Linked DNA regions of Homo sapiens: regions 2 and 3 are each linked to region 1. The links are contacts of gene promoters, found by promoter capture Hi-C in human tissues and cell types (Jung and others, 2019). All regions are on one chromosome and are shown on one strand. The core of a region is centred on a gene start or on the middle of the fragment in contact, and the rest is flanking DNA. Distances in the headings are between cores, read along the strand shown.

Region 1 (2,700 bases), core at 139-2,638:
CATGTTCTTCAACATGGGTCAGGTTTCTATTCAGCCTCAGGGACTTCTCTGCTTGAAGCCTGTTGTGTGGCGGGGAGGTATTCTCCCCACAGCTCAGAGAGATGGGGTTGCTGTGGAGGGTTTGCTGTAGCTCCTCTACCCTGGAATATACCCTCTTCTGCCTTAAAAGACCCAGCTTGGACCCTCTCTTCCAGAAATGCTTGCTAACCGCCCCCCCACCACCCAAACTAGGTCAGGGGTCCCTCTGGGCTTCACAGACCCTGTGCTTCTTTCTGTCACAGCCTGCAAGTCTCCCCTCCCCACTCCCCAGCCCGAGTGCTTCTCTGAGACAAGGGATAGTGTGAGCCATGAGCTCAGCCACTGGTAGGCCAATGAATAAGTAAGTTAATGGTGAAGCCAGGATCCAAATCCCCATTTCCTGCCTCAAGGTGTGGAGCTGTTTCTCCTGCATACAATAGTAGCTCTGCTGTGACAACTCTCTATCTGTCCTAGGGCCTAAAATGCCTCTATTTCACTAGGTTATAGCTTTATCCTAGGGAGTCCTCTTTGGAAGCAGGGTGGGGGTGCAACAGGCCTTCCCCCATGCCTGTAGTCTGTGAGCAGCGAAGGCCATGTGGGGCAGGCTGTGGCCTAGGTCTCCACAGATCCTGGTAGAAGTCCATGCTCACGCATCAGCTCCAAGTCCCAGCTAAACCAAGCCACCAAGAGGTGGGCCCTGTGACAAGGCTCTGAGTCCAAAGGCCATCAGTAAAGCCCCCTAAGTCTTCCGTGGACCCAGCTCCAGGCTGGGATGCACGCTAGGAGATGATACACACCGGGTGAGGGAGCCCAGAGGAGAGGGCAGCTAGCTGTGCATGGAGGCCTGATCTCTCAGACTTGAGGGCACAAGCGTGTCCCCTCATCCTGAAGGCTTCTGCGATGGGGCAGCAGAGGGTCTGGGTCTGCTGCCCCTCAAGTCCCCAGCCCCATCCTAGCCCATGAGGATTGTAAATCCCTCGTCCTCTCCCCTCTCTCCTCTGTCAGCCACTCCCCTTTCCCCCTACCCCACTCTCTTTCTATTTCTGCCTCTGATTTTTTTTCCTTTTCTGCCTTTGTTCCTCTGTGTGTGTGTTTCTCTATGCCTCTCTGGTCTCTTTGTACTTCCATCTTGATCTCGCTAAGGCTCTGATCCCTCTCTCCTCTCCCTCTTCATGTGTTACTGTCCCCCTTCCTGTCTCTGTTTATCTCTCAGTCTCTCTGTCTGTGAGTCTTTTTTCCTCTCTCCCAGTCAGACTCTCTCTCTACCCCTCCCTCTCTCCCTCTCTCCCTCTCTGTCTGGGCCTCTCTCTGTTCCTCCTCCCTCCTCCCTCCCCCTTCTGCATTATCAGACCTGCTCCAACCTCCTCCCAGAGCCAGCCGAGCAGCAGAGGCAGTGGCAGCGGGAGAGGCGGGAGCAGCGGGGCAGCAGAGCTGGATTGGGGTGTTGAGTCCAGGCTGAGTAGGGGGCAGCCCACTGCTCTTGGTCCCTGTGCCTGCTGGGGGTGCCCTGCCCTGAACTCCAGGCAGCGGGGACAGGGCGAGGTGCCACCTTAGTCTGGCTGGGGAGGCGGACGATGAGGAGTGATGGGGCAGGCATGCGGCCACTCCATCCTCTGCAGGAGCCAGCAGTACCCGGCAGCGCGACCGGCTGAGCCGTGAGTATAGTGAGGGGCTGGGGTGGTGAGCGGCTGTGAGAGGTGCCACAGACAGGGTCCTGGGAGTCCCTCCAAGGAGCTGGGGTTGGCATGGAGCTGAGCCACGTGGAAGGATCGATCCTGTTCCTGGGCACCCCTCCTCCCCGCGTTGCCAGACTGCAGCCTGGGGTGGGGGCAGGTTACCTCTGAGCAGAATGAGGGTGTCTAACGTCAACCTAGTAGGTGATGAGGCTGGGGTCCCATGGAAGGGGCTGCTGGTTGGAGGAGGGGCTGATAATGAACCTGAACCGGTTCTTCAAGGGCTGAGGGTGTATGTGGGGAGGGGGAGGTCTGCCAAGTAGTTGGGAGGAGCTCTCGGGGCTGCAATAGGCTGGTTCAGGACCCGGAGAGGGAGAGTGTCTTGGCCCACCAAGGCTATGTGTGTGTGAAGGAGGTGGGGAGGGGGAAAGATGGAGAAAATATGAATAAGAGTGGCCCTGGAGCAAGAGAGGGTTAGAGGTAACCACCTTCCATGGAATTGGGAATTGGGGTTCAGGGACACCACTTTATGAAACTTTACCCCAAAGCGTCTGTCCCAGGATAGGGTTCTACGGAGCCAGATGGAATATGGTGCCAGCCTCGTGTGTGTCCACGTGCAGGGGGGTGCATGTGCAAGTGAGTGGGGGGCGCCGTGGCGACACCCCTCTACTAAGGGCTGCCGAGGTGGTAGGCAGGGTATGTGTGTGTGTGTGTGTGTGTATACATGTGGAATGTAAGGGACATGTTGGGTGTAGAGGGGCCTGTAGAGCTCTAGGGTCCTTGGTGGTTGGATGTAAAGCAGCCTGTCAGAGTTTGTGATCATCCCTGTGTGAGTGAGAGTTTATTCGCATGTGTCTGAGTGTGAGTGCAGGTTGGTCTGCATATGTATGTAGGTGTGTCTATTAGGTTGAGTTTGTATATTATGTGTGTTGTGTCTGCAAAATAGAGTGAATCAGTGTGCATTTTTTATCTGTTCCATGTGCATTTATGTGTGTGTATTTGTTAGTGT
Region 2 (2,700 bases), core at 8-2,507, 420 kb after region 1:
GTTCCCAAGAGGGAAGAATGGTGCTGGATGACCACTCCATAATTGTTCATTATGGCAGCCCATTGGCAGGTTCCTTCCCATGCACAATAACTTGGTGTATTAGTCTGTTCTCACACTACTGATAAAGACATATCCGAGACTGGATAATTTAAAGGAAAGAACCTTTTTTTTTTTTTCTTCTGAGATGGGGTCTTACTCTGTCGCCCAGGCTGGGGTGCAGTGGCATGATCTCGGCTCACTGCAACCTTCGCCTCCTAGGTTCCAGCGATTCTCCTGCCTCAGGCTTCCGAGTAGCCGGGACTACAGGCGTGGCACCTCCATGCCCGGCTAATTTTTTTTATATTTAGTAGAGACGGGGTTTCACCATGTTGGCCAGGCTGGTCTGGAACTCCTGACCTTAGGTGATCCACCCACTTCGGCCTCCCAAAGTGCTGGGATTACAGGCATGAGCCACCGCACTCGGCCAGGAAAGAGGTTTAATGTACTCACCGTTCCACATAGCTGGAGAGTCCTCACAGTCATGGCGGAAGGCAAATGAGCAGCAAAACCACGTCTTACATTGCGGCAGACAGGAGCGCTTGCGCCGGGGAACTCCTATTTATAAAACCATCAGATCTCGTGAGACTTATTCACTACCACAAGAACAGCACAGGAAATACTCGTCCCCATGATTCAATTACTTCCCATCGGGTCTCTCCCACAACACGTGGGAATTATGGGAGCTATAATTCAAGATGAGATTTGGGTAGGGACACAGCCAAACCATATCACCTGGATAAGCTTGTCAGAGCATAGCAACGTTGGTAGGGTCAAACTTTGTTTTTTCTTTCCCCTTTTTAAAGGAAGCAACAAGACTTCTCTGTACCATTGTCTTACAAAAACAACTAAGACATTCTAAAGAGAAATCCCCCCTCTCCCCAGGTAAGTTTCCATGTGCCCACCAGACTGGGAAATCCTTAAAGAAAGCATCCCGCCAGCACGGTGGCTCACGCCTGTAATCACAGCACTTTGGGAGGCCGAGGCGGGTGGATCACCTGAGGTCAGGAGTTCAAGACCAGCCTGGGCAACATGGTGAAACCCCCGTCTCTACTAAAAATACAAAAATTAGCTAGGCACGATGGCACGTGCCTGTAATTCCAGCTACTCGGGAGGCTGAGGCAGGAGAATCGCTCGAGCCCAGCAGGCGGAGGTTGCAGTGAGCCGAGATTGTGCCACTGCACTCCAGCCTGGGTGACAGAGCGAGACTCCGTCTCAAAAAAAAAAAAAGAAGTTTCATTACTTGATGGAAGTTATATTGGATGTCTGATCAAGCTCAGCTTCTGAGCATAATTGAATAACGATGACACTGAAGACATCACTTTGGAGGGTACAAAGATGCATTTCGATGCTAGGGAGGAGCTGTGGCTCCGTGTGCTCCCCCAGAGGAGAGGAGGGCTGGCAGGAGTGCACTGGAGTAAGAAGCCAGCATAGTGGCCACACTCTGAGCCCAGGACATTCTTGCTCAGATTTCTGAGGGGAGGCTAAGATCAGTGTTTCTGGCAGAAGTGAGAATAAAGTGGTGACACCTGGGAATCCCCAGGATACCACTCTCCAAATGATCACTGGCAAAAAGAGTTCTCCAGGGCACGGGTCCTTCCTCAACCGCTTCCACTGCCTGAGCTCACAGACTAAGTTAATGTCAGAGCAGGGAACGAAGCAGAAGATCCAGAGCAGTCCCCACTATATCTGTCCACAAGGATCCTTTTACCTGCCACTCCTTCTGTGGGGGACTCCTCCTCTGACACATGCTCATTGGCTTTACTTTTACTCTTTCTATAGGATCCCTCGCTGGGCCTTGGTCTCTTCATCTGCAAAAATGAAGCCATCACGCTGGGTAACTCTGCAGGGCCCTGATGCCTTCTGAATCTTTCAGGTAAAGGTGATGCTGTGGTGCATCGTGTCTGGGTTATATATGCAAGTTTCAGGAGTAACAGATCAGAGGGAGCCTGGCCAGAGTCTGGTGTGGATCTATCAGTGCCACAGTACTCAGTCACTTGATAAGAGGGAGAAGGGGGGAAGCAACCGCTGGGGGCCATGGACGGAGCTATGACAGAAGGGCCGCTCTTTTCGCAGAGTCAGCACTTTGGGACCAAGAGGTGGAGGAAGACCTGGGCCATGCTCTACCCGGCCAGTCCCCATGGCTAGCGCGGCTCAAGTTCTTTGACCATAAGGGGTCGAGCTCTGGGAGTGGCCGAGGGAGCTCGTGCTGCCTGGACTGCAAGGTGATCCATCTGGCGAAGTGTGTGAGTTTGGTCCCCGTGGCCGTGGAGAGCCTCCCTGAGCCCAGCGCCACTGCCTTCCGCCTGGACACTGCACAGCACTAGCACCTGCTGGCTGTTGATGTGCCGTCCAGTGCAGCCTGGTTGCAGACGCTGTGCCAAAACCCCCTTCGGAAAGGCAGCTGGACTCTGGAACCTACCAATAACCCACCTGAGCTTTCTGCCCTGGAGATGCTGGAGAACTCCTTGTGCAGCCCCACCTGGGAAGGATCCCAGTTCTGGGTAACGGTGCAGAGGACTGAGGCGGTCGAGCACTGTGGCCTGCATGCCTCCTACGTGCTGAGGGTGGAGGCTGAAAGGCTGACTCTCCTGACCATGGGAGCCCAGAGTCAGGTACCGGAGCTGCTCCTGTCCTGGCCCTACACTCTGTTGCATTGCTATG
Region 3 (2,700 bases), core at 99-2,598, 440 kb before region 1:
CCTCCCAGACTCAAAGCAATCTTCCCTCTTCAGTCTCCCGAGTAGCTGGGACTACAGGCATGTGCCACTATGCCTGGCTAATTTTTGTATTTTATGTAGAGACAGGATCTCATCATGTTGCCCAGGATAGCCCCGAACTCCCAAGCTTGAGCTATCCATCTGCCTTGGCCTCCCAAAGTGGTAGGATTACAGACGTGAGTCACCGCGCCTGGCCTTTAGAGAATATGCATTCTTTTCAAACAAAAATTAATTATTTATTTATTAGCCCATAAAAAGAGTCTCAAATAATTCTGTGGAATTGATATCATACATGTTGTGTAGTATGTGTCTAAGAGAGGGCTCAGGAACCAAATGTGGTTTTCCCCTAGTTGTATGACCTTGGGTAAGTTACTTATGTGCTTCAATTTTCTCATCTGTAAAACAGAAATGGTAATAGTGGTCTCTCAGAGTTGTGAGGGCTGGCATTCAGAACAATGCATTACACGTGGTAAGGGCTCAGTTAGTGTTTGCCATCATCATTATAGTATCATCATATTCTCTGATCACATGCAATGAAAATAGAAATCAGTAATGAAGAGATAAACATCCTCTTCCTTACACCAAAAAGAAAAACCTCCAAATATACCATTCAGCAATAAAAATGAGTGAATTATGGATACACACATCAATGTGGGTGAATCTCAGAAACATTCTTAGTGAAAGAATTCAGATACAAGAATATATACTGTATACTATACTCCAGAATTATATACTGAAAAGTTCTAAAACAGGCAGAACTAATTTGTGGTGGTGGAGAAGTCAGTACAGTGGTTTCCTCTGGTGTTTAAGGGTAGGAATTGACTAAGATGGGGCATGAGGAAACTTTTTGGGATGATAGTGCCATTCTGTGTCCTTTGTTTTTGTTTTTGTTTTTTTGAGATGGAGTCTTGCTCTGTCACCCAGGCTGGAGTGCAGTGGCACAGTCTCGGCTCACCGCAGTCTCTGCCTGCTGAGTCCAAGCAATTTTCCTGCCTCAGCCTCCCAAGTTGCTGGGATTATATGCACCTGCCACCATACCCTACTAATTTTTATATTTTTAGTAGAGATGGGGTGTTACCATGTTGGCCAGGCTGGTCTCGGGAATGCGTGACCTCCAGTGATCTGCCCACCTTGGCCTCCCAAAGTGCTGGGATTACAGGTGTGAGCCACTGGGCCTGGCCCCATTCTATGTCTTGATAGGGATTTGGGTTTCATAGGTATGTACATTTGTCAAAACTCAGAAAATGTATATATAATATGTGTGCATATGATTTTAAGTAGTTTTACATAAAAAGATAAGCAAATATTGGATGCTGGTTAACACTAAGCATGCTGAAATATTTAGAGGGAAGAGTATTATTGTCTACAATTTGCTTTAAAGACACCAAAAATAAGGTGGATTAATTAATGGCTAGGGAGATGGATAAATGGATAGATATGTGATAAAGCAAGTCTAATAGAATTTTGTGGCAGAATCTAATGGCGGCTATATGGATGTTAGCTGTAAAATTCTTTACAATGTGATTGAAAAATTTTGCAATAATCTGTTGAAGCTTTCTTCCCATTCCCCTACTTGTGCTTGCAAACTAAAAACAAACAAAACCACTACTAACTGAGTTAAAGTAGAAATTATAATGAGAATTACTAAATACCACACAATGAAAATGAATGCCCTATATAAACAAACTTGTAGGGTATGATTCAAAAGGAAATTTATAGCTCTTAATGAATTTGTTAGAAAATAGGACAGATTGAAAGGTAGTGGGTTCATCTCAATAAATTAGGAAAAAACCCAAAATATGCCTAAAAGCCTAATAGGATGGAAAAATAATAAAATATAAATCATGCATTATTATGTAGTATTTAAGAGTGTGGACTCTTGAACCAGATTGCCTGATTGTGAATTCTTAGTTCTCCACTTCCTGCTTGTCCAAACTTGGTTACTTAACCCGTCTGTGTCTTCTTAGCTTCCTTATCTACAAAATGAAGATAATAATAGAATCAAATTCATAGGTTTGTGAAGATTGAATAAGTTAATATGTTAGTACATGTAGAATGTATTTGTTATAAGTACCAGCTTATAAATACCAGCTTCTGTTATTGATAAGTAGAAAGATGAATGGAAAACAAAAATACGTATAATCAATAGGCCAACAGCTAGTTTTTTGAAAAGACCAATATGATACAGAAAACTCAGGAAAAAGGAGTAATAAAAATCAATATGCTAAAAATGAAACAGAGATATAACAATAGTGATTTTTTTTGGGGAAAAATGGAAAGGTTTTACATGAAAAAATATAATTACTCTTACCGAAGAATAAAGAGGAACTTGAATTGACCATGAAACAATTTGAGTTCATAACTAAAAAAAGAGATATGGGCCAGGCGCTGTGGCTCATGCCTGTAATCCGTGCACTTTGAGAGGCCAAGTTGGGAGATTGCTTGAGGCCAGGAGTTCGAGACTAGCCTGGGCAACATGGCGAGATCCTGTCCCTAATAAAAATAAAAAGCAATTAGCTGGGCATGGTGGTGTATGCCTGTAGTCCCCGCTACTTGGGAGGCTGACGCGGGAGCTTGTGCCCAGGATTTAAAGGCTTTAGTGAGTTATGACCACACAACTGCACTCCAGCATGGGTGGCAGAGTAGTGGGACCCCATCTCAAAGAAAAAAAAACAAAAACGA

The links. Contacts are between HindIII fragments. The study calls those that stand out against the background at their distance.
Region 2: a contact is called between a fragment that was not itself captured here and the fragment with the promoter of PDE2A in region 1, in 2 of the 25 tissues and cell types used here (adrenal gland and lymphoblastoid cells).
Region 3: a fragment that was not itself captured here is called in contact with the fragment with the promoter of PDE2A in region 1 in 1 of the 25 tissues and cell types used here (spleen).

The regions. Positions count from the first base shown.
Region 1 is chr11:72,673,110-72,675,809 of GRCh38, reverse strand. It overlaps PDE2A (phosphodiesterase 2A), which reads left to right and starts at 1,388. Exons shown (of 31, transcript NM_002599.5): 1 at 1,388-1,673. The coding sequence starts at 1,603. RefSeq lists enhancers at 1-164, 315-939, 940-1,566, 1,567-2,192, 2,193-2,700. The HindIII fragment of the contact is 13,863 bases long and covers 1-2,700 here.
Region 2 is chr11:72,250,662-72,253,361 of GRCh38, reverse strand. It overlaps the pseudogene LOC220077. Among named protein-coding and RNA genes, the nearest start is that of PHOX2A, 7.8 kb to the right of the region's middle. The HindIII fragment of the contact is 7,877 bases long and covers 1-2,700 here.
Region 3 is chr11:73,116,534-73,119,233 of GRCh38, reverse strand. The region is part of intron 2 of FCHSD2 (FCH and double SH3 domains 2); the gene reads left to right. Among named protein-coding and RNA genes, the nearest start is that of FCHSD2, 24 kb to the left of the region's middle. The HindIII fragment of the contact is 4,925 bases long and covers 1-2,700 here.